6 separate regions of the Homo sapiens genome follow, and all the other regions are linked to region 6. The links are contacts of gene promoters, found by promoter capture Hi-C in blood cells and fetal thymus (Javierre and others, 2016). All regions are on one chromosome and are shown on one strand. Each heading gives the region's core, a stretch centred on a gene start or on the middle of the fragment in contact. The rest is flanking DNA. Distances are from core to core; before and after follow the strand shown. Region 1 overlaps KCNQ1 (potassium voltage-gated channel subfamily Q member 1). Region 2 overlaps KCNQ1 (potassium voltage-gated channel subfamily Q member 1). Region 3 overlaps KCNQ1 (potassium voltage-gated channel subfamily Q member 1). Region 4 holds the start of KCNQ1 (potassium voltage-gated channel subfamily Q member 1). Region 5 overlaps KCNQ1 (potassium voltage-gated channel subfamily Q member 1). Region 6 holds the start of KCNQ1-AS1 (KCNQ1 antisense RNA 1).

Region 1 (4,504 bases), core at 1,265-3,764, 260 kb after region 6:
GCTTTAGCTCAGCAGGTCACAACTGGGGGCAATTTTGCCCTCCAGGGGACATGTAGCAACATGTGGAGATGTTTTTGGTGGTCATAACTGAGGCCGGAGATGCTGCTAAACATCCTGCAATAGACAGGACTTCCTCCCTCAACAAAGAATTATCCGGCACTAGATTTCAATAGAGGTACAGTGGAGAAACTCTGCCCCACTTGGCTGACAATAAGTCACTCTGCCAGGACTGGTGGGCAGGAATGCCGGCCGGGAAAGAGGAACCCTGCCTGTGGAATTCAAGGTCAGACAAAACGAGAAAAACAACCTGGCTACATCACTGAAATTAACAAGCCTATTCCTGTGTCACGGGCTGAATTGTGTCCCACAAGGTTTGCAGTTGAAGCCCTGGTCTTTAATACCTCGGCACGTGACTCAGCATGTTTGGAGACAGGACCTTTAAAGAGGTGATGAAGCTACAATGAGGCTGTTAGGGTGGGCCCTAATCCAGTGTGACTGGTGCCCTTAAAGAAAAGGATATTTGGACACACAGAGAAACACCAGGGTGCAAGTGCCCAGAGCAATGGTCATGTGATGACACAGGAAGAAGGCGGCCATCTGCAAGGCAAGGAAAGAGGCCTCAGGGAAAGCAGCCTTGCTGACACCTTGATCTCAGACTTCTATCCTCCAGAATTGTGAGAAATACATGTCTGCTGTCTAAGCCACCCAGCCTGTGGTATTTTGTTATGGCAGTCCTAGCAAACTAATACATCCTGGAAAGTTAACACATAGAAATAAAAGTTCTGTACATAGAAACAGGTTCAAGAACCTATGTTCTTGAACAAAATGAATTTTAAGCGATAGAGAACATCACAGAGTATGTACACCAAAGGAAATTAAGCAGAGATTATAAATTTTAGAATAGAATTGAAATAGAAATAAAATTCAATTAGAGATAGAATTAAATCAAAATAAAATTGTTTCAGCAGCCTTAGAGGCATTTTTACTATTTTACTGATTGAGAAAAACAAGATGCAGAAAGCAGGTATGATATGATCCCGTGAGTTTGGAAAACAATGATAATGCCTTCATTATGTCACATGTATTTTATTTCATTGAATATTATATGAACATCAGGAAAAATGTAAGACAACAAATCCTAGATTATCAACATAGGTAACAGAGAGGAGGGGAGCCCAAGCAAACATAAGAAAAAAGTTCTGTACTGAAACACATCTATTCCATTCTACTCATCTGTAAAGTTAAAGTGTGAATATTGGAAAGTAATACAACATTAAGGACACTAAAAGAAAGAATAGCCCCTATTCAGATCTGGTATTGATAGAGCCTGAGGCCAATTTGGCAGCAGACAGAGACACAAGACTGTTTGCTGCATATGGGTCCTGGGTGAGCACTTACATGTTCTAACTCACTCAGTCAACACAGGAGTCCTGGGAGCAGGCAGTTAGGATCCTGATTTCACAGATGTGGAAACTGAGGCACAGAGAATGCAGTAGCTTGCTTAGGGCCACATAAGAAAATGGCAGAGCTGGGCTATGACCCTAAAGAAGGTTGGCCATATAGGCTGTGCTCCAAACCACTCCATGAAACCTGCCACTCAATTTTTAGAAACATAATTGTACAGGAAGATTTAATTTTCCTGTCTCAGAATTTGGCAGATGTATTAGGGTTTTTTTTTTTTAACTAAGGGCAGAGCAGACCTAAATGAGGCAATGAATAAGTATGTATACACAATCCATCTCAATGTACATTTTGTCTGTCCATGTATACAAATAAAACTTTGTGTTATACAAATACAGAAGATATTTTCTGAGGTCTGTGGAGCATTTACAAAAATAATGATGTTATTTTCATACTTGGAGACAAAGAAAATCTTCATTTTAAAAAAAGTGGAGACTTCATAGGCTACATCCTTTCACTGTAAGCCTACTAAATTAGAAATAAATAACAGTGATAAAAATTTACTGCTTAAAAATTAAGAAGACATTAAAAGAACTCTAAAGAGAAAAATCAAAACACAAAATTAAAACTATCAAGAAAGCAATGAAAAGGAACATATTTCATAATCAGATCTACGTGTCACAGCTAAAGCTGCAATCAGAGGAAAATTTATAGCCTTTAAAAATGCCTTTAGTAGAAGAACTTCAAATAAATGAACTATGACTCTTAAGTAAAAGAAAACAAAAATAGAGTTAGCCAAGAAAAGGGAATTAATAGCTATAAAAGCTTAGATTAATGAAATAGATAACAAAGAGTACAAAGATAGTTTTCTGATAATAAAATATAAATAAAACATAAATTTCTCATGTGCTTGATTAAGAAAAAAGGAGAAAAACCACAAAAGTTCAGGCATAAAGGAAAAGAAAAACGAAGAGATGATAGAGAAGACCATAAAATCACTAAAGGAAAAAATCAGTTGCTACCAAGTGGCAACACAATTGAAATGCTTGAGGAAATTAAATAGCAATGAATAAATTACTCCAAAAGATGCAATAAACTAATTTAGAACAACATATCATAAAACAGACTAAAAAGAAATTACTAAAGATATCCTATAAAACATGTATCAGGCCCAGATGGTTTTACAACTCAATTCTATTTAACCTCTACAGAAAAGATAATCCCAATGTTCTTCAAACAGTTCCAAGACACAGAACAAGGAAGGTAGATAAAACTTTGTTTTGTAAACCATTGTATTTGCCCCCACATGATGGCAGATTTCATACTCTTCTGAAAGATGTACTGTTATTTCTAGGATCAGATATCAGGGATGTCCTGCATCAGTGATGAGAGTGAAGCTTCACAGTTTTGATGGCTGTTTAACGGAGATATGATACTTGAAGCAGACCTCCACTGATGGGTATGTCGGTGGTTTGCAATTTTTTGCTATTTAACAATTGCAGAAATCAATATCCTGATGATGGATTATTTTGCAAATGTGTAAGATATGTGTAGAATAAATTTCTAGAATGATTCAAAGGCATATGCATCTTTAATTTTGATTGAAATTGCCTTATTTATCTCCACAGAGGTTTGTATCAATTTATTTTTCTAACATCAATGACTGAGACTGAGAGTTTCCATGTACACATACCCATAGAGTGTTATCAAACTCTTTGATATTTAATAATCAGATAAGTTTCAAAAACCCCATTGCTTTAGTTTGCATTTCTCTTGTCATAATTGAAGTCATCCAGCATATTTTCATTCTTAAGAATTATTGGTATTTCCTTTTCTGTGAACTGTTTTAATATCCTTTAACTTCTATCTTGATTTACAAGAGCGTTTTTATATAGCAATTAAATTAGCCCCATGCCTATAGGTGAGTGGCAACTGGTTTCTTTAGGTTATCAATAAAAAATTATTTTCAGTATGTTTTTTTGCTATGCAAAATATATATTATATATTTACATTATATATTATAAACAGTTTTATTGAGATATAATTGACATAACTTGCTTATGTTTAAAGTGTGCAATTTGGTAACTTTTGACACATGATGAAACCATCGCCATGATTATGATAATGAACATATCCACTGCCCCAAAAGTTTTTTTGTGCCCTTTTGTCCTTTTCCCTCCTACTACTACCCCTGATCCCCAGGTAACCACTGATAACCACTGACTTGTTTGTCACTCTATATTAGTGGTCATTTTCTAGATTTTTACATAAATAAGATACCATGTACTCTTTTTTTTTTTGTCTGGCTTCTTTCACTCACCATAATTATGTTGCAATGTATCCATATTGTAGGCATATCAGTGGTTCATTCCTTTGTATTTCTAAGTAGTATTCCATTTTAGGAATATACTACAACTTTGAAAAAAATCTATTCAAATGTTGATGGGTATTTGGGTTGCTTCCAGTTTGGGGTTTCCAGTTTTTATAAAGCTGCTATGAATATTCCATGTACAAATGGTGGCATGCATATGATCTTATTTCTCCTGGATAAATACCTAGGAATAGAATCGCTGTAGAATATGGTAGGTATGTATTTAACACATCAAGAAACTGCTGAACTGTTTCCCAAATGGTTGCATCGCTTTGGACTTTGCATTCTCACCGGGAGCATATGAGAGTTCCACCTCCGACACATCTTTACCAACACTTGGTATCATCCATCTCCCTCATTTTATATAATATAATAATTGGGCCGTGGTATTTCATTGTGTTTTTTATTTGCATTTCTCTAATAACTAATGATATTTCAGCCACATCTTCAGGCTCCACTTCTAATTCTAGTTCTCTTGCAGTTTTCACAACATCAGTAGTTACTTCCTCCACTGAAATCTTCAACCCCTCAGTCATCCATGAGGGTTGGAATCAACTTTTTCCCAATTCCTGTTAATGCTGATATTTTGACGTTCTTCCATGAATCACTAATGTTCTTAATTTCATCTAGAATGGTGATTATTTTCTAAAATGTTTTCAATTTACTTTGCCCAGATTCATCAAAGCAATCGCTATCTATGGCCGCTATAGCCTTATAAAATGTATTTCTTAA
Region 2 (4,430 bases), core at 1,931-4,430, 290 kb after region 6:
CCCGCCAGGGTGCAGCGTTGCCAGGGAGGCGGGAATTTCTGGAGGCTCCAGGTGAGGAGAGAGTGAACAGCAGGCAGTCAGACTCGACTTCAAAAGGCGGCTGAAATGTAGGAATGGGGTTCCAGCTTCTTTACTTTCAATTCTAAATTTAGGTGCAGAGGGGCAAACACAGCCCGGCAGCCTCCTGTTTGTAGAGACCCCCGGGCGCTGAACAGAGAAGCCCGTGTTTGCAAAAACTGCTTCTCCCTCCACTCAAACTTTAACACAAACAAACGCATTTTGTTCCAAGGGCAAAGAAAAGTCTTAAATTCTCCCCAAACGCCTTGGCAGCCAGGGCAGGCGCCACACTCAGGGGATTCGAGAGTTCTCACATCCAAGTTGCGTATCCCCACCCCGGCGAAGGGGACAGGAGGGGACACTCAACCACTGAGCCGGCGCCTTCGCTGGACAGCTGTGGAAACTGGTGGCCGGCAAGGGGAGGGACCTTCCCAGGAAGTCCACCTGGGCCACCCACTGTCCTAGGCTGGACTGCATCCCCCCTAATTCATATTCACCTGGACCCACAGAATGCGATATTTGGAAATAGGCTCTTTGAAGATTCAATCAAGATGAGCTCCTCCTGGATCACCTGGGTGGACCCTAAAGCCAACAGCAAGTGTCCTCATGAGAGACAGGGCCTGACACAGAGGAAAGAGGCGGCCGCACACCGGGCACGCCTGGAGTCTCCAGCCACGGGGAGAGGAGAGGAAATTTCTCCCTGAGCTTTCGGAGGGGCAGGCCCTGTGCACACCTCGCTTCGGGCTCTGGCCTCTAGAGCCCATGAGTTTCTGTTGCTCTGGGCCCAGCAGTTCGCGGACTTTGTTGTGGCAGCTCCAGCACCCTCTCAGGGTGTGTCTGAGGGGTGAGGAGTCCACAGAGTCCAGGCAAGGTCTGGGGCAGATGCAGCATGATGATCAGAATGGCCTGGCCTCCAGGAAGCCACCTCCCACCCAGTAAGGGCCTGTGGCAGCCCCGACGGACGGACAGACATGGAGCAGCCCTGGCTGCCTGGCCGGCGAGGGCGTACTTCACTCCCCGGTGGGGTGAAGGAAGCAGGACAAAGGAGCTGAAAGAAAACAACTGCTCAGGGCGCAGTTGCAAATTGGCAAAACTGGCTTAAAAGCCCCCATCTGGGCTGCTGCCCCTTCTTGCGTTTCTCAAGTTCTGTTTGTCCGAGAAATGCCAGGAACACAGCCCATAACTCAGGCCTCAGGGGCCGCTCCCCCCAGACAGCTGCAGGGCAGCTGAATGGGAGCTGTTTGCCCCACAGCCCTGGGCGGTGGGGGGCCCAGGGCGACCAGGGGCGCGGGGCCTGGCGGGAACAATGGCCAGGCCAGGGCGCGCGATGGCCGAGGCTCGGGCTGCAGCTGACGGTGTGGGCCGGGGCACTGATGCCAAGCCGGGCACAAAGGGGCCGTGTTCCCGGCCAGCGGGCGGATGTTTGCACAGGTGTGGGAGTGGGAGTGCCGCTCTGCTGCGGGCTGGGGGGCTGGGGAGTAGCGTCCGCTGCCCACAGCTCCAGTGGGCGGCTGGGAAGGCAGGCAGGGCAGCAGCGAAGGCTGGGCACTGCTTATCAGCCGTGCCGGGGCCAGTACCCACTGGCTTTTGCTGCACCGCCAGCTCCTCACTGCCCACCTTGCCACCAGCCTCCCGGGAACTCTCCTGGCTCTGGGCCGTCCATCCCCCGAGCACGCCCTACCCATCCACACTCACTGCAGGCAGGCTCCCGCAGGGGGGCTGGGCCCTGCTGCCCAAACCTGCTCAGGCCTGCCACACTGGGGCCTTCGGGGACACAGGCCCCCAGGAAGGCGGGAAGAGGCCGAAAGTGGGGCCTGCCCCAACCCAGGAGCTGTGTCAGCATGCCCCTGCCATCCCTGAGCATTGCAGCACTTTGGAAGCTTCCAGAAAACCTGCTGACTTGGCCTACGTCAGGAGCCACTGCTGAGTGTCTGGCCTCATGGGGGAAGCGGCGGTTGAGGGGGAGGGAGGAGGCACAGCAATCGCAGGGACACGTGCCTGCCTGGGGAGCCACCGGGAGGCTTCTCACCCCACCCAGATATGCTCTGATGGTGGTGGGGGGTCCCGAGAGCCAGCAAGTCCGGTCCTTTCTGGAAGGAGGACTCGGGGCAGACGGACTGGGTCCTGGCACCACCACGTGTTTCCCACGGCTGCCCTGCCCGCCCCCACCTCCAGCCCCCGTGCGGCCCCCAGGCCTTGGCTCCCACCCTGTGTGGGCTTCGACGGCCTCCTCCCCAGCCCCCAGCCCCTGTTGCTACCACGATTCCATCTAACCTGTTATCGGACTGAGTGAGCCCGGAGGTCGGTAGACAAGGGCAGACGCGGGGGCAGGCTTGTGGCGGCAGAGTAGGGGTCACCCTGTCACCTCGGCACTTGGGCTTCTCGGTCCCCACCCAGGGCCACTCCCCAAGGTGTGATGGTGCCACCCTGGGCCTTAGTGGCCTGTGGACGGCCCACCTGGCCCTGCAGCTGTGGGGGGAGATGGGATGGAGTCATTCCCTCCCTGCACTCTGGCCTCCAGCCAGCTACTCCCCTCGGGGTACCCACGTGTTCCCCCTAGAAGCAGCCCTTGAGCTCCATGCATATATAAACGCCGACTTTCACTGGAGGATTTGAAGGCAGCCACCAGCTCCCAGAGGGACACTGGCAAGCTAGGCCTGCCCCCTAAAAATGCCTCAGCCAGCGTCCTCTGAGCCATGAGAAACTGCTGCTGGGCCCACAGGCCAGTGACTTGGGACTTGGGGAGCCTGCAGCTCGGAGGGCGCACCCTGATTCCTGCAGCTGCATCCTCATCGGAACATCTCCCTCTCCCACGTGCAAGCCTGAGTCCCTCAAGGAAGCCCCCACAGACACGGCCCAAGACACCCTGCCCCACCCCTCCCGCACAGCCTCTCTGAGCTTTGGGTGGCTCGGTGTTCCAGTGCGGGATCTGCCTGCTGCACACCGGCTTCCCCAAGGCTCCCGGGCTGCTCTAGGTGGCCGGAACCCACCTTCACAGCCAGGGGCAGCCTCTGGGCCCACAGGCCGGGTCCCTGCTTCCCTAGGCCCAGCTGCACCTATGTCGCCACTGCCCAGGCCCGGCTCCAGAACTTGCAGGCCCAGCATCCACTGGAAACACGGGGGCTCTCTGATCTCTGCTGGGGTCTCTTGAGCCATCATGGTCTTTCCTGTTTGCTGTCTCATGTCTGGCTCCTTGGGGACAGGGGCACTTACAGGGCCTGTGTGGACCCTCAGAGACACGCGAGGTATGCATCTGACGCCGCTCTCCTTGGGCCCTGCCAGGGTGAGGGCCACGGTGGAGGCAGGGAATGGGCAACCTAGGACGATGGCGGGAGGCAGAGCCATGGGGGAGCCGAAACCGCTAAGCCCCCAACACACGCTCCAGTGACCCCTCCGATTTCCCTCTCAAATCTCAAGTTCAAGGATGAGACCATTCAGAACTTCAAGATGGTGATGCCAAAGGACTCAACACTGAGCGTGGGGACCTGTGCCAGCGGCTCCAAGCACAGGTTTGTGGACAGAGGCCTGTGAGCGTGCAGGTGAGAAGCCCCTGCCAAGGCCCGAAGTCTCAAGACACCAGTGCCCAGATGTCCTGCCCACTCCTCAGCCTGAGCTGCCCCTGTCCCCATGCCTGGAAGTTTCCGACTTACCACCCCCCACCACAGCGCATCTGCGTAGCTGCCGAACTCCACGCGGCCTGACTCGTTCACCGCGTCCTTCTCAGCCAGGTACACAAAGTACGAGGAGAAGATGAGGCCCAGGAAGCCGATGTACAGGGTGGTTATCAGCTCCTAGGCCAGAAAACACACAGTGTCGGGCTCCAGGAACCGCAGGCTGGGAGCCTCCTGTGCAGACGCCTAAGGCAGCGAGTCCCAGCGATCACTGGGCGTCCTACGCCGCTCCAGCGCGGTTCACATGCACAGGGCCGGCTTCAATATAGCCCACTCCTCACAACTCCGGTAAGTGGCGGGTGGGGGTTACCCCCAGAATGAGGCTCAGCCCTGGGGTCGCCCTAGGCCCACTGTCTGGGCCGGCGCGGGCTCCACTGATTGCCCAGCTCTCTTTCCTGCCACGTGACAGAACCAAGAATGGACCAGGACCCAGGAGATCCTCAGGGAGAGGAAGGGTCCCCTCACCCCACAGAGCCAGGGGCCAGTGCAGCCTGAACCCATCTGAGTGCAGCCCTCGGGAGGGAGTCTGGTGGCCCTGCCTTGACCGGGTCCTTGATTTGCCTGGGTTTTTCATTTCTGACTTTCTGTCTTCATTTGCCCCCAGCTCAGAGGAAGGTGAGCACACCATCAGCCTGGCAGGCCAGGGTCACTGGCACCAGGCTGGGGTGGAGCATCCAGGCTGGGCTCAAGCTTGGGCTTGCT
Region 3 (4,248 bases), core at 1,196-3,695, 320 kb after region 6:
TATGTAACCATATATATATATACACACACATATATACACATATATGCACACATATATATACACATATATATACACATATATATACATATACATACACATATATATACATAGATATATACATATATACACATATATACATATATATATACACATATATATACACACACACACATATATATATACACACACACACATATATATATATGAGATAGATAATCTCATTGATCAGAGGATTCAATATTGGTTAAGACATCAATTCTCCCCATGTTGATCTTTAGGTTGAATGCAATCCCAAACAAAATTCTACCAGGCTTTGCAAAAATTGGTAAGCAGCTTCCAAAATTTATATGTAAATGCAAAGGACCCCGAACAACCAACACAACTTGAAATAGCAAAACAAAGTTGGCTAAATTACCCTAACTTATTTTAACCGTATTATAGGGCTGTAACAATCCCAGTGTGTGACTGGCAAAAGGACAGATCAACGGATCACAGTAGAGTGTCCAGAAAGAGACAATTTTATGATAAACTGAACCTCTTAAAAGGAGTCAAGATGATTCACTGGGTAAAGGATACTCTTTTCAACAAATGACACTGGACCAGTCAGTCATCCATAAGAAAAAACACATGAATCTCCGCCTATGTCTTACATGATAGAGAAAAATTAACTCAAAATGCATCCTAGGCCTAAAGGTAAGCACAAAAATTATAAAACTACTAGCAGAAAATCTTAGTAAGAGTGTGTTTGGTAAGCATTTCCTAAATAGAATGTGAAAAGCATGAAACATATTTAAAAGGAAAAAGCTATATTTGACTTCATAAAATTGAAAATGTTTGGTCTTTAAAAGATACTATTGGGCCTGGAGCAGTGGCTCACACCTGTAATTCCAGCGCTTTGGGAGGCCGAGGCAAGGGGATCGCTTGAGGCCAGGAGTTTGACACCAGCCTGGGCAACAAAGTGAGACCCTGTCTGTACAAGAACTTTAAAAAGTTAGCACCTGTGGTGGCACATGCCTATAGTCCCAGCTACTTGGGAGGCTGAGGTGGGAGGATCCTCGGAGCCCAGGAATTCGAGGTTGCAGTGAGCTACGTTTACGCCACTGCACTCCAGCCTGAGCACAGTGCATGACCCAGTCTCAAACAAAAAAAAAAGATACTACTAAATAAATGAAAAGGAAAGCCACCGACTAGAGAATACATGTGTAAAACAAATATCTATGTAACCAGAATATACAAAGAACTTTTACAACTCAGATGACAAACAGCCCAATTTTACAATGGGTGAAACATTTAAAAAGATATGTCACCAAAGATGTTTCCTGGATGCCAATGAAACACGTGAAAAGATATTCAACATCACTGGTCCTTAGGAAATGAAAGTTAAAACCACAGCAGGATGCCACGCACACCTCTTAGACTGGCTAACATGAAAATGACGGACCACGTCAAGGGTTGATGAGTTAGCCAGTTTCTTAAATAGTTAAAAATATACACTCACCACATTATCCAGCCATTCTATACCTAGGTATTTACCCATGCAGAAAGGAAATATAAGTCCCTACAAACACTTTTATACAGAGTCCGCCAGCACACAAGTGGATAAACAGACTGCAATGCGTCCGTACAATGGGATACGGCTCAGCAATGAAAAAGGAATGAATTATTACATGCCACAGCCTGGATGACTCTCAAATATGGAACCAGACAATAAAAACCACACACTGTATGATTGCACTGACAACAAGCCCCAGAAAACGCCAACCGTCTACACTGACAAGACAGACCAGGGGTCCCCTCCGGAGCCAGGAGCAGCGGAGGAGGGGCCAGCGACGGGAGCGAGAAGCCTTCTGGGGGTGACGGATGTGCCTGCTGTCTCAATTGTGGTGATGGTCCTGTGGCGTACACCCATGTCCAGATTTGTCAAATCCTACATTTTAAACAAGGCCTTCCACTCTATGCCAATTATACCTCAACAAAGCTGATTTTTTGTTTGAGTGAGCAGAATAAATAAAACTGAGGCTATGGCGGTTCCTGGCTGAGGCCCCTCCTTCGCAATTAGCGCGCCTTTGGTGGGCACGGGGCCCCTTACACCGGCTTCCCCTAGCACTTCCTTCCCCGCCCCCGCCAGGGGAGGAGGCATCGTCCACCAACACCCTTTTGCCCTCTTGGCCATTGGCTCTGGACTGAGAACCTTCATGCCCAATGTCCCCACACCCTCGGCACAGCCCCAGGAACTGAGGTCCTGATATGACCTGAATTTCACACATGAGGAAGCTGAGGTGCAGAGAGGATTGGTGACGTGTGTGGACCCACGGGGAAGTCTCAGGAGTCTGGATACCCCCATATCCTGGAGTTTCCCCAGCAAGGTCTGGGAGTCTTTCTGCAATCCCAGGCTCCAGGGCCATGGAGAGCCACAGCAGGCACGGCGACAGCCTCTGAGGCCCACCCCAAGCCAGGGGACCCCACGGTGCAGCTCTGCGCCGGCCTTTCACAGGAGGGGTGCAGAGGCCTCCAGAGGCTGCCGACTGGCCCCCAAACCCCCTTAGCTGATGTCTATGCGAGGACCAGCCACAGGACCTGGGCCTCAGCGCCTCTGACAGGGGCTCCATGAACTCTGGGGAGAAACTACAAATTCTTACAAACTCCCGGGATGAGAGGGGGTTTTCCAAAGGTTCTAGAACTCCTAAGTGGTCTAACAGATGTCCTCATTTAAAAAAAAAAAAAAACTCAAAACACCTGAGCCTGAGATGAAGCAAGAGAACTTGAGCAGAAGGGGGCTTTCTGGGAACGTTCAGAGTATCCTAACGGTGGGGACAAAGCCCTGCTCACAAGCATCCCGAAAACGGCGTCCCCATGGCTTTGTCCTCAATCCCAGGCTTTCATAGCCACCGCCAGGTCCAGGGACCTGGCTGGGTAGGCCACACTGAGAACTAACCAACGAAAAGGGCCCAGCTCAGTCCCTCCCCCGAGGACAGCAGCCATCCCTGACCCTCCCCAGCCAGTTTCAGAAAACGGTCAGTGAGAAGAGACACAGGCCCCGCTAAAGAAAGCTAAAATGAAATAAAGACGCCCGCCCTTCCCCCAGGTTCCCCACCAAATGCTGCTCTGAATGCACGCATCATTCTCAGCACATGGTGCTCGGAAACTGACCAGATCATCACCCCGCCAGGAAAAGGGGCTGGCCTGCGCCTCTCGGCACACACTTGACATTTTGTTCTCATCCAGGCTTCCCATGCTGACAGTTTCTGGATTAAATGTGCAAATGGAACGCGGCCCCAAGGGGGTCTCTCTCCCTGCCTGCCTGAGGTCCAGGGCTGGGTGTGCACGTGTGCACGTGTGCATGCAGGCACGTGTCTGAGCCTGAACGTGCACACACACGTGAGTGTGTCCACATGGGTACCTATGTGTGCATACGTCCACACGCCCATCCGTGCACATATGTCTGTGCGTGTGTGCCTGTGCATCCTCTTCTCCATAAGGCATCTGGGCTGGACACGAGTGTGTTTTTCAACCCCCGACTTCAACTACCTTGACCATGACCAAGTCTGGAAAACTCACCACCAGCTCACAGCCGCCCAGGACTTTTCTCAGCCCAACAGGGATTGGCTTCACCTAAAAATCTAAATGCAGTCCCCTCACAGCAAGTCCCCAGGCTGTGCTCTCTGCCTCCCATTGCCACCCTAGAGGGCACAAAGCTGTGAGGCCCAGAGGACCAGAACGCACCTTCCCAAGTGGCCAGGAGTCAAGACTGCATATTTGGGGAGGAGACTATTGTCCCCAGTTGCCAGGGTCCTAAAGACACCTGAAGGGAACATCCACTCCTCCTGAGGCCAGCTGGAGCTGACCTTGGGGTTGAGAGCATCTCCCACAAGCTACTGAGGAGGCTGCTGGCCGCCCCTGGCCCCAGGTACCCCAGTCATCCCACCAGGCATCCCGTTGGCCAGTTTTATACCCGGGAGAAAGAAAATCTCGTGGGAAGAGCTGTCTAGGCCTGGCCCTGAACAGGGGGCTGGGATCCGAGGTGCTCGAGCCGTGGCTCCTGACCCCGTGAGGCCGCACCGAGCCCTGTCCCCCCAACCTGCAAAGTCACATGATGACACACTTCAATGGTGCACGGCCAGGGCCTCTGGTTTTCACTCTGTGTGACCTGGGAAGCCAAGAACATAATTAGAACTCATCTGAATGTAATGCCCTCTAGGGGGTTCCCCTGGCACCTGCCCAGCCCCCTCCCCAGGCTGCTGCCCAGCG
Region 4 (4,206 bases), core at 128-2,627, 420 kb after region 6:
GTAGAGGCTCCCAGGCCAGAGGCTGGCACCACACCAAAAGGCCGCTGGCTGGGCAGCCAGGAAGTAGGGCCACTGGGGCAGCGGGGGAAGGCCCCAGGCAGGCATGGAGGAGAGCAGCCTGGACCTTCCCGGAGGTGACTTCCCAGGCCTGTCCCTGAGAAATCCAGTGCCCAGCCCTGCTCAGGCACGCTGTACCGGGAATTGGAACCACCTGGTAACAGGGGGGCCAGGTGCCTCTGCTACCAGCGCTGCTTTCTCCGGGAGCACAGCTGCCTCTTAGTGAGAGCTGCAAACGTGCCTCTCCGCTCTCTGCATCAAGCCAGGTTTTCATGAGCTTGGTTCAATTAGTTAATGTGGGGCCCGTGGGGACGGCCCGTGGCATGCTGAGCCCTCAGGGAGCACCGCCACCGTCACCTTCCTATCCTGGACAGCCCCCTGCCCCAGAGTCCACCTGGGCCTCAGGGGGTCTGAGATGCGGCACCGGACATCAGGGGCCTTCTCTCTTGGGGGCTCCTGAGCCTCGAGTCTCAGCCGACCTTGAGGAGTTATCTTACTGCACCCAAGGGTGCGCTCCCCAGCACGCTTCTCTTCCCAGAAGGATTCACACCTGGACTACCCTCCCGGAGGTGTGGAGCCAAATTCTGGGCTCCAGGTGGTCCCCTCCCCAGCCGGCTCCCTCCCCACGCCGGGCCTGCGAGAAGATGCGCACCCCCAGACACAGCAGCGCCTCTGAACTTCAAGGGAGAGTGCAGAGTTTGTGTTTCTGCGTTTCCCCACTTCCTTCCCTCCTCTGCTCCGGGGTCGCAGCTCCGACGGGGCAGGTGGCGCTGGGACAGAGCTCCCCCACACCAGCTCTCAGGAAGCACCTTCGTGCCGGCCGTCGCCGGTGGCGATACTCACACGGCGAAGTGGTAAACGAAGCATTTCCAGCCGGTGGGACGCTCGAGGAAGTTGTAGACGCGGCCCTGGACGTGGGTGCGCGCCAACACCGGGCGGCGCGTGCTGTAGATGGAGACGCGCGGGTCTAGGCTCACCGGCGGCCGCGGGCCAAGGTCGGAGGCAACTGGGGGCGCGGCGGGCGCGGCCGGGGACGCAGGGGGCGCGGGACCTGGGGCGCCGGGCGCGATGGGCGCGTAGAGCGCGCCGCCCGCCGGGCCGCCCTCCGCCAGCTCCAGCGAGAAGGGGCACTTCTTGGCCAGGCCCGCGCTGCCCCGCCGGGCGCCTGGCAGGCGGCCCCAACCCCAGCGCTTCCTCTCGGCCCTGGGCGGGGAGGAGGCCGCGGCCATAACGAGGAGGGCCTGCCGGGGGGCCGGCCCGAGCGGCGGCACCGGGAGCTGCAGCGAAGGCGAGCGCCCGGGCGCAGTGCGGGCAGCCACTGCTGCCAGCCCCGCCGCGGGGGGCCGCTGCCGGCCCAGCCCGGGCGCTCGGGGCGGGGCCGGAGGGGGCAGTGGCCGAGGGCCGGTCCCATGGGACGGCGTGCCCCGCCCCCGCCTGCACGCCCCGCCCCCGCCGGTCCGGCGCGCACAGGGCGTCCCTGCCCGCGCCCACCGGCTTGGCCCGCCCTCTCCCCACGGACCGGCCTGGCCCTGCCTCCGCCTCACCCCCTGGCTTGGCCTGTCCGCGCCCCCGCCCCCGCCTGCGCCCCCGCCCCCACCCCCACCCCCGCCCGAGCCCACCTGCTTAGCCCCGCTCGTGTCATCTATCCCGCTTGGCCCCGCCCCCTCCTCGCCCACCTGTTTGGCCCCGTTCCAGTGTGCATTTACCCCGCCTGGCCCCGCCCCCTCCCCGCCCACCTGCTTGGCCCCGCCCTCACCCACCTGCTTGGCCCCGCCCCGTCTGCATCTCCCCTGCTTGCTCCTGCCCTGCCCTCACCCACCTGCTTGGCCCCCACTTCTGATGCCCGCCTGCTCTGCCTGGCCCGGAGGAGGACCCCAGCTGCGCCAGGGAGGAAGGGGTAAGGCCTGGCCGATACCACGACCGAGAACGGCACAGCGGGGGCAGGAGGGGCGGGGTAGGGTGCCGGCATCTACTTTCCCTCCCTCTGAGCCACTCCGGAGTTGGGGTTGGGGGGAGGAAAGGGATGTCCTGGGTGAGGGTGTGCTGGCCCCGCGATCACTGTGAGCGCCCCCGGGTGCCCAGGCGCGCGAGCTGCGGGCGGCGAATACGCTCGGGTCGCTTCCCACCAGGGCCCTTGGACCGGGAGGGTGAGATGGGACCACCACTGTCAGGTACCTCCCAGTGGGAGCTGTGTGGGTGGGGAGCCGGCAGGGCTGCTGGGGGGTGGGGGCGGCACAGCCGGGGTCTGGACCTGGTTTGACTGCCGGGCATAGCAGGCGGGGCTGCCTGGGCAGTTAAAGGGAGAGGCGCTTGCGCCACCCTAGTAACTTGGAGAATGGGCGCCTTGTCCTCCCCACCGTCGAGACCGCGCTGCCGCTGCGCCCCGTGGATTCCCCTGGGTGGGGGTGGGTTGGTCACATCGGAAGATTTTCACAGGTCTCTGCACTGCCTCCCGCCCGCTACTGGCATTTGGGTCTCAGCACGTCTCAGGCTTGGGGGGGGGGTGGGGGGCAGCCAACAGAAGAGACCGGCTTTTTTCAGGATACTGCACACAGCCCTGAGGCAGGGACTAAAGGTGGAGCTCAGCGGTGACTCTCCGCCCCGCCAGGAGACCCATAACTCATGTGACACTTCCAGGTCGTCCCTGAGCACCCTGGGTCAATTTGATGTATCTACCACCCCCTGCCAAAAGTCTGCTCTTTTATCGTGGACGGAGTCCAGCCCAGGCCCTTGACGCCTGACTCCCCACCCTAGTGAGGTGCCACACAGGAGTGCACAGTCTGTATTTGCAGCAAGAGTGGATGGAGTGGGTCCCAGCTTGTGCTGGGCGCTGTGATAACACAAGGGAGGCCGAGGAGAGGGTACCTTCCTGGGAAGCATATCAGTGAAGGTGCAGAAGGGCAGCGGGTCAGAAGATGGGGGCAGTCAGTCAGCTCTGCAGGGCACACAGCACGCATTCAGCAGTTACTTTCCGGGTGAACATACATACACCTGCATGGAGTCTCTGCCTTCCCCTCCCACCTCAGCAGGAGGAAGGTGAGCTTTGAATAAGCAGCGTTTGGACAACTGGACAGTCATAAAGAAAGAAAAAGCATACCTTGGGTCCATCTCACCGCACACGAGAATAAATCTCAAATGAATCAGAGGCTCAAGTGTAAAGGGTGAGATGAAGCCATGCAAATTCTACAAGAATGTACAGGTCAATTCCTCAAGAACCTGTGAATCGGGAAAACATTTCCAACTATGACTTGAAATCCAAAAGCAACAGATAAAATAAGAAAAATTAAAATAGAAGCACCATTAGCAAAGTAAAGGAGACAAATGACCAAATGGGAAAAGTATTTGCAGTTTCGATCACAAAGGATTAATATCACTGATACATAAAGAACATCAAAACTGAGGTGAGGAACCTGCCAGACAGTCCTATAGAAAAGGGAGCAGAAGACATGAGCAGTTCATAGGAAATGGGGTTCATGACCTTTGCACTTATGAAAAAATGTTCAACCTCATTTATAACAAGAAAAATGCAAATGAAAAGTACACTCTGATACCACTGCTTGCTTATCAGATTGGCAAAAATCCAGACTTTTGATGGCAACTCTGTGGGAGAGGCAGCAGGCACAGGTGCACTCCTCATCACTGGTAGAAAAGAGACCTAGCGATATTACTAAATGTATCATTTGACACAGAAACCCCACTTCTAGGAAATAACCCAAAGATATGTAGGAAAAATAGAAAAGTACATATACATAATGATAGTCAAAACAGCATTTTTTATATTAGCAAAAGTCTAGAGACAATCACAATGTCCTTCAATCGCTTCAGCTGTGCTGTGGTACAGTCACACGATGGAGTGCCATGATCAATATGATCACTAATACTCAACCAAAGGATCCCAAAGAACTCTGTGTGTGTGTGTGTGTGTGTGTGTGTGTGTGTGTGTGTGTGTGTATCAAAGAATGATGCTAAATTCCTTTGGAACCAAGATTTTCAGTATAAAAGTGATACAGATTTAAAAAATCAAAGAAGTACAAACCAGTCCTTAAATTGAATGGACTATATTAGCATAGACTCCTCAGCTATTTTATCTTAGGAAAAAGGTATATCCTACTATTGTTCATTGTCAAGTTTGAGAAGGGGCTGATCAAC
Region 5 (4,002 bases), core at 1,503-4,002, 350 kb after region 6:
AGGAAGCCCTCCAGTGGCAACCTCTGGCTCTCAATTCTGGCCCTGCTGCCAGGAACAGTAGGGGCTGCCCCCTTCCCCACCCCACGTCTCCTCCTTTTCCGTGACAGTCACACCCAAGGTGCATCCCACAAGAGCCACATCCCATGCCTGGCTTTTGTCCCTGCTGCCCCCAACCCAGGAGGCACGTAGTGTGTGCCTGGCACCACGCTGGGCTCCAGGGGTGCAGAGACAGATAACAGACACAGGGAGAGAGAAAATAAACCGTAAATGAACACATAAAACCACCACCAATGGGGAAAAGAGAAAGGGTGACGTCTCGGGGAGAGGCAGGGCAAGAGGGCTGCCCCAGGAGCTGGTGTGGGATCTGAATCGGGTAGAGAGCTAGGGACAGACCCTGCAGGCAGAGAAAACTGCACGTGCAGAAGCCCTGAGGCATGGCCTGGTCTGGGCCAGGGGAGCAGAGTGATGGGCAGGGAGATTCGCTCACACTGTGATCGGAGGAAGGCCACGCCCAGGAGTGCATCTGAGCGTGCCAGCCTTCCCAGGACCTGGAGGCAGGCTCTGGCCTAGAATCTGCTGCTAACCAGAGAAGCATCTGGCCTGGGCCTCAGAGACCAGCTGGAAGGAAGGGTGGAACAACACCAGTGCGGCTTCAATTTCACGGACATTGCCCAGAAGCAGAGAAAGCCCAACATGTTAGCCTTGTTTGTTCCTTTGAGAAAGGGCCTGGTTCTGACACCCAGACTGGAGTGCAGTGGCACAATCTGAGCTCACTGCAACCTCTACTCCTGGGCTCAAGTGATCCTCCCACCTCAGCCTCCAGGGTAGCTGGGACTACAGATGTGAGCCACCACACCCAGCTAATTTTTGTATTTTTAGTAGAGACGGGGTTTCACCATGTTGCCCAGGCAGGTCAGGCTGGTCTCAAACTCCTGGCCTCAAGCAATCCACTTGCCTCAGCCTCCCCAAATGCTGAGATTGCAGGCGTGAGCTAACATGTCCAACAAACCTTTATTTATTTATTTAAAAATTTTTTTTTTTTAGACACAGGGTCTCGTTCTGTCACTCAGGCTGGAGTGCAGTGGCAAGATCATAGCTTGCTGCAACCTTGAACTCCTGGGCTCAAGTGATGCTCCTACCTCAGCCTCCCGAGTAGTTGGGACCACAGGTATGTGCCAGCACACCCAGCTAGTATTAATATTTTAATTTTTTTTTTTAGAGATGGGGTCTTGCTATGTTGCCCAGGCTGGTCTCGAACTCCTAGGCTCAAGCAATCCTCCCACTTTGGCCTCCCAGTGTACTGGATTGACAGGCCTGAGGCACCACGACCGATCCCAATTAGCCTTTAAACACCAGGAAACCAAAGTCAGATGCCAGGACATATCTAAAGAGAGAGGCAGCCCTGGCAGTGGGTCTGTTCCCGGCTGTCACTTGTCACCTCCATGGGCATTTCCCAAGCCAGGCTGCATCACGCCACCATTGGCCGGCCCCGCCAGGGTTCCCTGTCCACACCTCCCAGTCCACTTGGCTCAGCCAGCAGCCGCCCAGCCCCGCTCCCCACCCCCGGAAGCCCCTCTTTTCTTTCCCTATCCCAGGACTGTCTCCTGGCCCAGTCCCAGACAGTTCACAGCTGAGGAGGAACAAAGCAGAGGAAAGGGACGTGGCGTGACGTGCTGGGAGTGAAACGCTGACACCTCCGTGGCCATCTGGGACCACGACCTGCACTACTGCCCTCACACCCGGACCTGGAGCTGCCACTTCCTGCCTGCTTCCCAGAATAGCTGGGCTCATCCTCTGAGCAGGCTGCCCTGCCTTCCTCTGTCTCTGCTCAGGACAGAGACTCCTCCTAGGACACCAAACACCCCCCACACAGCACAGACCCAGCCTCCCAGCCAACGGCCACTCACTGGAGCAAAGGGAGCCAAGTCTGGCTTTGGACAGGAAGATGGGGTTTGCCAGGCAAGGGGTGCAGAGATGCTGAACTTGAACATGGAGGGGAAACAATGATGATGCCAAGGGAAGGGGCCCTGGGATCCTACCAGACCCTACCCCAAAGTCCGAAGCCACTCTTCATGAAATAATATGTGATATTAAAAACTTAAATTTTCAGTTTCATGAAACAGCAAATAAAAGCCTTGAGATAGTTGCTCTCCCAACCTGTGCTGTGTGCTTTTGGTAACAGAGTCCTTCCCCCAGGGACCCCCAAATTCCCCAGTATGGGGCATGTGTTGTACTAATTTCAAGACCTCTATTTCACCCTGAGCAATAGCTCCTCCTCCAGGAAGCCTTCCAGATTGCTCAGTCAAATCCCATGCAGACTCTGCACACCCTTGCCCAGGGCTGTGCCCCTTCCCCACGGCCCTCATCCAGCTGGAGCTCTACATTCTTCGTTTGCCTCTGTGACTGTAGGGTGCCCTCCAGTGCCCACAAGGGCCAGGCTGTGTGCATCAGGCACATGGGTGTGGAGGGAGCATGCATTCAACTGTGACTTTCCTTAGCCCTCCTCAAGCCTGTATGAGAGCAGGGGAATTGATGGCTTTCTTCCTAAAAAGCTTAGTTCAACAGTCTTTCCCATCCCTCCCATTCGGGGAGTTTCTATAGAGGAAGCCAGGTGGTCACTGCCATCTTCAAGGATTCCCTGGGGGTCTCTGAGCAACAACAGGATATCTGGGTCACCCACACCCTCTGTGCTCTGAGAAGCCCACCTGCTAGTCTGGGAGTCTGGGTCCTGGTGGGTCCCAGCCCCGTACATGGAGGCTGGGACCCTGCCCCGAAACCTCTCAGGTGCGAACACCCAGCTGGTTATATCATCACCCTCTCTGCATGACAGATGGGACACTCCACTCAGGACCCACACTCCTCCCCATGCAGAGCAGCCAGGCCTCGGGAGCTGTGTCCTGACCTGAGGTGCAGTGTCCAGGGCACTGTCTGGACAGTGCTCCCCAAAGCTTGCCCTGCCAAGCCCAGGTTCCAGGACAATGATGGGCTCCTGGCCTAAAGTCTTTCCAAGACATATCTCCGCCGGGTAACGGCAAGTCAGACAAGCCAGTATGGTCCCCACAGGAGCCCAAAGACCCTTGGTGACCACCATGGGTTGGTGGAGGTTGTGGTACCTCAAACATGCATGCCTAGTGTTTGCAAACCTCACCTTCAGCAGCAGCATCCCTGGGAAACCCCAGCTCCACTGCCGTGGGGCCAAGGCAACACAGACCCCTGCTGGGGCCCAGGCCAGCTCTGTGGGGCCGAGCTGGGTGTTTGTGTCTGAGAGGTTTCAGGGCAGGGTCCCAGCCTCCATGTACGGGGCTGGGACCCACCAGGACCCAGACTCCCACATACGTGTGTGGAATAAAACTCATAACCCCACATCACCAAGTCAAGGCCAGTTCCAAAACCTCTCAGGAGGGCTCAACACAGAGTCCTTTGTTCTTCCTCCATTGCCCCTGTGGAGGCTGCAGGACACCCAACCTCCCGGACTTGCCTTCCTTGCCCTCAGCCTCCACAGCTGCCATCACTTGGCCCTTGCCCTCTGCCCTTCCACCCACCCAGGCTACAGGAGGCCCTGTCTAGCCCCTGCGCTCATGTCATTTACACACTGACACCTCCCCTAACTTGTGAGCCCAGCCCGCACTCTCTCCCCAGAGCTCCCACCTGCAGGTCTTACTGCCTTCAACCCACCTCACCTGGCTGCCTCACAAACACCTCCAAAATAACATGTCCCCAGCTGGACTCCTTCGCCCCAACCCTGACCCATGTCAGAAACAGAAAGTGCATCCTCCCAGGTGCGAGGGGTCCCAGCAGCATCCTTTTCTCTTCCTCCCGCTGCACCCGCCACCTTATCTACCTGCAAACCCTGTTTTCTACAGCAGTGGTCCTGACTTCTCACCCTTCCTTCAAACCCTCTAGAGCAAACCACGCCGTCCCATCCCACAGCCACCTCAGTCACAGCCTCCTGCGCATCTCGTGTCCTGCCCGATGACCCCACACTCCATGCTCCACTTAGAG
Region 6 (4,567 bases), core at 10-2,509:
AAGCGCGCTTCCCGGGCCCGGGCCGCTGGGTGCCCGCCCGTGCCCGGCGGCGCGTCGAGTGGAGGGACAGCGGCCCCCTCCCTGCCCTCGGCCCCAGCACGCCCGGCCGCGGCTCCCGGAGGTCCGAGGAAGGCGGCGAGGCCGCGCTCATCTGCATGAAGCGCACACTCGCGGCCCATCTGCAAAGGCGCAATTAAACGCGGGGGTGGGGGGGCAGGGGCGCCCGAAATTAGCATTTCCGCGGCCATCTGGCGCGAGGAGCGGGCGCGGCCGGACAAAGGGCGCCGGGCGAGGGGAGAGGCGAGTGTGCCGCGGCATTGACCTGCAAATGAGGCTTTGTGCGCGCATTAAAGCTCGCCGGACCCCCGACCCCGGCCCCCGCCCCGCCCGCCAGGCCCGCGGCCCCTAGCGGCCCAGGCTCGGACTGGGCACCCCGAAGGTCTGGGGGTCGGGCCGGGCAGTGCCGCGACTGGGCAGGGGGCCGGGCCGGGCCGGGCCTGGCCGGGCCAGGACAGGCTGTGGAGCGTCGGAGCCCCCCACCCAGGCTGGGTTCCTCTGCAGCCTCCAGGAGAGCCCCTGGGACCCTGGCCCCTTGAACCCTACCCCTGCCCCCATCCGGTCCTCGCCCCTCTGGGCCGGTATTCCCCAGCCTACTCCTGGAAAGGATTTCTCAGGACGCAGGGGTCCTGGCTAGAATCCCTCGGGGTGGGTAAGTGGAGGGGGCGTGGACAGGTGGGGGCTGCGTGGTGGGGGCAATTTTGTATTGGGAGCTACTAAAAACTGGCCACCTGGACAGGTTTTTGTTTTTGCCATGGTCATTAATGCCCTCAATGTTTGAAAAAGGCCATTTCACAGTGTTTTATGGGCCTTAAAAATCAGGGACTCTTTGAAAATGGTTGTGGGGCAGCTTAGTGACAGCCAGATGATTAGCAAGAGCTCAGTATCAGGTCTTTAGGGGACCAAGTGTGTGGGGTGGTGGTACAGGAAATCTGGGACTCCCCAGCTGGTACAACTGAGGCTGCAGCCAGGGCCAATGGGCCGGGGAGCAGGAGGCCGGGACTGGGAGCCCTGGGGCCAGCTGGGCTCTGCCAGATACCTGGGTCACTTGGAGGCCCCTGGAAGGCCCCCTGGACTTTCTGCCACATTGCTCAGGCTCTGGGTGCCTACAAACTGCCCCCCATGCCGTTGGGCTGCTCATTAGGGGTTGTGGCCCAAATTAAACTGCAGTAGCCACCCCCAGAACCTCCAAAGGCCTGGGGGGCAATGAGGGGCACAGAGGACAGTGTGTGGCTATCTCTGGGTCTCTGTTCTCCCAGGTGGACCAGTGGGGGTTGTGGCGATGCTGTCCAGGGTGAGGTCCAGCTACGGTTGCCGTCCTGTCTGTCAGCACCAGCACCCAGCACATCTGTAGGGCCTGGGCCCCGGACCCAGCCTGAGGGTTATGAGGAGGTTTCCTGAAGGAGAAAAGCCAGAGTGGAGTCTGGAATGGAGCAGGGGGGACCATGGCCTGCCCTCAGTCTGCTAGGTGGGGCTGGAACCTGGGGTTTTGCTTGGGTGTGAAGAAGGAAGAGGCTGGGGATGCAGCTAGGTGCTGGTTCCTCATAGACCGAGTCATGATTTATGGGGACCCTCAATTATATCCCCTTAGCAGGGGCCACAAAGTCTCAAATCTGCCCAGAAATCCACACCTCGGAGCTCAGGTGAGGTCTTCTTCAGGTTCTCCCTCTGCAGTGCAGATACTGTCAGAAAGAGCAAGCTACAAATGGAGAAGTCAACAACACTCTAGTGAGAATTACCCTGCCAATTAATTTTCTCAGAAATCGGGGACTCAGGGACCGGTGTGTAAACACGAGTCCCTTAATGGGGGGTTCAGACAGGGTGGGTGTGGGCACACAGGGGTCCGTGCTAAAGCCTGGCACTGGATCCCAGGTGTGGGGACTCCAGCTCCTCCCAAGGGGCAGGGGATCTCCCGTCTGTGATGTGGCTGAATGACTCACCGCCTCATCTGTGGGCCAACATGTGTGGTGGGGCAAAGGTCTCTGGCCTGGTAGCCGTGTGAGCTGGAGGGGGGGCACTTCTCCATCCAGGCCTTACAGTTTCCCTTAGGTAAATGGGGCAGAGTAACCCCCTCCTTCCCCTACCACAAGGGTTCTGGGAGGTGTGGAGCCTGGGGTGTGGTGGTGCTTGGCACTCCGTGTTCTTTGGAAGCTGGAATGAGGTTCCTCAGGCCAGTTATGGGTGTGAGATGTCTGGAAAAACGAAGTAGACTGGACGGTGGCCTCATCTATCTGTGCTGGGCTGGGCACCAGCACCTCGCTCTCCCAACCTCTTGGGGTGCGCCCATAGAGGAGATGGAAGCACAGAGGATTTCAGAAACTCCCCACCTTCAGTGTTGCCTTCAAAAGTATACTGCTGTGGCATGTGGGCAAGGAGGGTTCTGGGGATGGGTGGGCTGTGGGGGGAGTAGGCGCATGGGTGGGGTGGGCCCAGGGGAGCAGGCATGAACCCAGGGAGAGGGTGCATAGATGGGGTGGAACCCTAGGGCTTCTGAGGGACTGCAGTGCGGCTGGTCTGTGTGGACAGGCGCTGGAGGGGGCACTGTGCAGAGAGCAGGATGTGGGTGAGCCCCTCTTTCCCCTCTGTCCTTCCCATCCTCCAGGACAGGGAAGCAGCCCTCAGCAGACAGTGTGAACCCCATGCCCAGTGTGAGCATGAGCACAGCTCCCTGCGCTTTGTCTTCAGGAGGTCTCAGATCCAGCCTGCATTGGCTTCCAGCAGACCCCTATTTCCTAATCCTCAAGGGTTGTTCTTGTCAGGCATCCCATTTGCAATGCCCTCGAGGGCCGCTGCCCGTCTGGCAGGGAGATCAGCTTCAAGGACACAGACAGTGTCTGCGGTGGGTGCTGAGTGCCGTAGGGGAGACCCTGGGCTGCTTTTGGAAGAGGAGCATCATGGAAGAGGAGCCCTTTCGCTCTGGGCTTTGGAGGATGAGTAGGAGTTTGCTAAACCCAGATGGGGAGGAGGGCCAGTTTGGCAGGTGGCGTTTGGGAGGACCTGGGGCAGCTGCCACAGCATGCGCCGGGCCTGAAGATGCCTCCTGCGCCTGGGTTTCCAGCTCTTGCTTCCTGAGCCGAGTTGGAGCTGATATCCATGCCTCCCAGCCACGGGATGCTCTTTTCAGTGTGACCAACCAGGCAGAAGAGCTGAGTGACAGGCAACTCGTGGCCTGGTCTGTGGAAGGCAGGGCTGCCTCTGAGCCTGCGGGTTGGGGCCAGAGTCCGGGCCTGGGCCTGCCACTCAGGAGGGAGCCCGGGGCAGCCTGGAGGAAGCACTGGGCCCTGGGGCCCGGCTGCAGAATCGGGGTGTACCCTGCACTGCGGAGGGCCTGGCTGTCCCTGGGGCTGATGACTGGGTGTGGGTGGGGACGGGCCCCAGTGGCCTGAGAACACTCGCACTTCCCTGCCCCCTCTGTCCCTCTCTTTACACCTGGCCCATAAGCGGCCAGTCTGGCTGGAGACCCTAAGCTGGAGAACCACTGGAAAAGAAATGGTTACTTTCTGCCTGGAGAGGGGGTATTAAGCCTCACCTGGGGCTGAGGCCTGGTCTCTTTAGGGCCTCCATGGAGCCCACGTGGCTCCCAGGTGCAGCCATTCTCCTCCACGAGGTGCTTGGGGGATTTGGCTGAAGCCAGGGCCAAAAAGCCAAAGCCTCTTCCTCCATAGCCTTTGCCCAAATGCAGAGGCCAGGGCTGGGGATAGGGGGAGGCGATGAGGGACCAGCTATGGCTGGTGGTCTCAGGTCCTGCAGGATGGTAAGGAGGGGAGGGTGGGCGGGTCTCCTGTCTTCGATGCAACTCACGCAAGGGCTGTCCTGGTGTCTTCTTGTCAGCTTGCTGCCGAGGCTGCCACCTCAGCTGCCTGTCTGTGAAATGGGTCCATGTGTCCCCATGCCTTGGCCCGTCTCCTCTTCCCTACAACAGGCTGCTGTGCAGCCTGGGGCCCTTTCCAGGCCACCTTCTCCATCTGCTCACTGAGGAGGGACCCCTGAGTCAGCGAGGCTCCAGCTTGGCTGCACCCAGCTGAAAGGTGAGTTGGTTCCCAGCCTCAGGCTCCTCATACGTAAGATGGGGCAGCAATGCTTGGCAAGTTCAAAGGAGATCCCTGTTAATGCTTGGCTTGGAGACTCCCTTGAGCCCACTCTGGGCTGCAGGAGGCCCTGGTTGTGGGGCAGGGTCTCTGCCACCTTCACCAGCCATCCTCACACTTGTGGGTGCCCCAGGGTGGGGCACGTCCCAGCCCTCTCTCTGGTCAGCAGAGGCTAAGTGAGGCCTGGGCTCAGGCACCAGAGGGCCCAGGTAGGGGAGGCGGCCGCCAGGTCAGGCCAGGCCGGCTCCAGCGGAGGCTGAATGGGCACTCTGTCCTGCCACCCTCGGCTGTCATCTGCCGCTGGGATTTGGTTTCCTGGACTGGTGCGGCTGCAGGTGGATTCTGCAAGGCCGGGTGACCTCGCAGCTTGGAGCCCCCGTGTCTCCTGAGCCAGGCGGTGGCCGGGGGGTGGGAGACAATGA

What was found. Contacts are between HindIII fragments. The CHiCAGO score rates a contact against its expected background, and 5 or more counts as called.
Region 1: a contact is called between a fragment that was not itself captured here and the fragment with the promoter of KCNQ1-AS1 in region 6, in 6 of 17 cell types (M2 macrophages, M0 macrophages, M1 macrophages and 3 more). The highest score is 6.8, in M2 macrophages.
Region 2: a contact is called between a fragment that was not itself captured here and the fragment with the promoter of KCNQ1-AS1 in region 6, in 7 of 17 cell types (naive CD4 T cells, M1 macrophages, erythroblasts and 4 more). The highest score is 6.3, in naive CD4 T cells.
Region 3: a contact is called between a fragment that was not itself captured here and the fragment with the promoter of KCNQ1-AS1 in region 6, in 17 of 17 cell types (megakaryocytes, M0 macrophages, neutrophils and 14 more). The highest score is 15.7, in megakaryocytes.
Region 4: the fragment with the promoter of KCNQ1 here is called in contact with the fragment with the promoter of KCNQ1-AS1 in region 6 in 4 of 17 cell types (erythroblasts, non-activated CD4 T cells, M1 macrophages and 1 more); the score reaches 7.0 in erythroblasts.
Region 5: a fragment that was not itself captured here is called in contact with the fragment with the promoter of KCNQ1-AS1 in region 6 in 4 of 17 cell types (total CD8 T cells, naive B cells, M1 macrophages and 1 more); the score reaches 5.5 in total CD8 T cells.

Annotation. Positions count from the first base shown.
Region 1 is chr11:2,595,787-2,600,290 of GRCh38, reverse strand. All of the region lies in intron 10 of KCNQ1 (potassium voltage-gated channel subfamily Q member 1), which reads right to left. Among named protein-coding and RNA genes, the nearest start is that of KCNQ1OT1, 100 kb to the left of the region's middle. The HindIII fragment of the contact is 572 bases long and covers 2,229-2,800 here.
Region 2 is chr11:2,572,264-2,576,693 of GRCh38, reverse strand. It overlaps KCNQ1 (potassium voltage-gated channel subfamily Q member 1), which reads right to left. Exons shown (of 16, transcript NM_000218.3): 6 at 3,708-3,848. Among named protein-coding and RNA genes, the nearest start is that of KCNQ1OT1, 130 kb to the left of the region's middle. The HindIII fragment of the contact is 2,481 bases long and covers 1,940-4,420 here.
Region 3 is chr11:2,540,183-2,544,430 of GRCh38, reverse strand. The region is part of intron 2 of KCNQ1 (potassium voltage-gated channel subfamily Q member 1); the gene reads right to left. Among named protein-coding and RNA genes, the nearest start is that of KCNQ1, 97 kb to the right of the region's middle. The HindIII fragment of the contact is 9,571 bases long and covers 1-4,248 here.
Region 4 is chr11:2,442,179-2,446,384 of GRCh38, reverse strand. It overlaps KCNQ1 (potassium voltage-gated channel subfamily Q member 1), which reads right to left and starts at 1,377. Exons shown (of 16, transcript NM_000218.3): 1 at 901-1,377. The coding sequence starts at 1,286. TRPM5 (transient receptor potential cation channel subfamily M member 5) reads left to right here and starts at 1,871. Exons shown (of 29, transcript NM_014555.4): 1 at 1,871-1,954. RefSeq lists silencers at 1,388-1,457, 1,468-1,577. The HindIII fragment of the contact is 13,739 bases long and covers 1-4,206 here.
Region 5 is chr11:2,507,320-2,511,321 of GRCh38, reverse strand. The region is part of intron 1 of KCNQ1 (potassium voltage-gated channel subfamily Q member 1); the gene reads right to left. It overlaps LOC124902613 (a long non-coding RNA gene), which reads left to right. Exons shown (of 3, transcript XR_007062553.1): 2 at 1,045-1,168; 3 at 1,596-1,861. Among named protein-coding and RNA genes, the nearest start is that of KCNQ1, 64 kb to the right of the region's middle. The HindIII fragment of the contact is 396 bases long and covers 2,555-2,950 here.
Region 6 is chr11:2,858,261-2,862,827 of GRCh38, reverse strand. KCNQ1-AS1 (KCNQ1 antisense RNA 1) reads left to right here and starts at 1,259. Exons shown (of 3, transcript NR_130721.1): 1 at 1,259-1,838; 2 at 3,889-4,085. RefSeq lists an enhancer at 4,098-4,567. The HindIII fragment of the contact is 10,846 bases long and covers 1-4,567 here.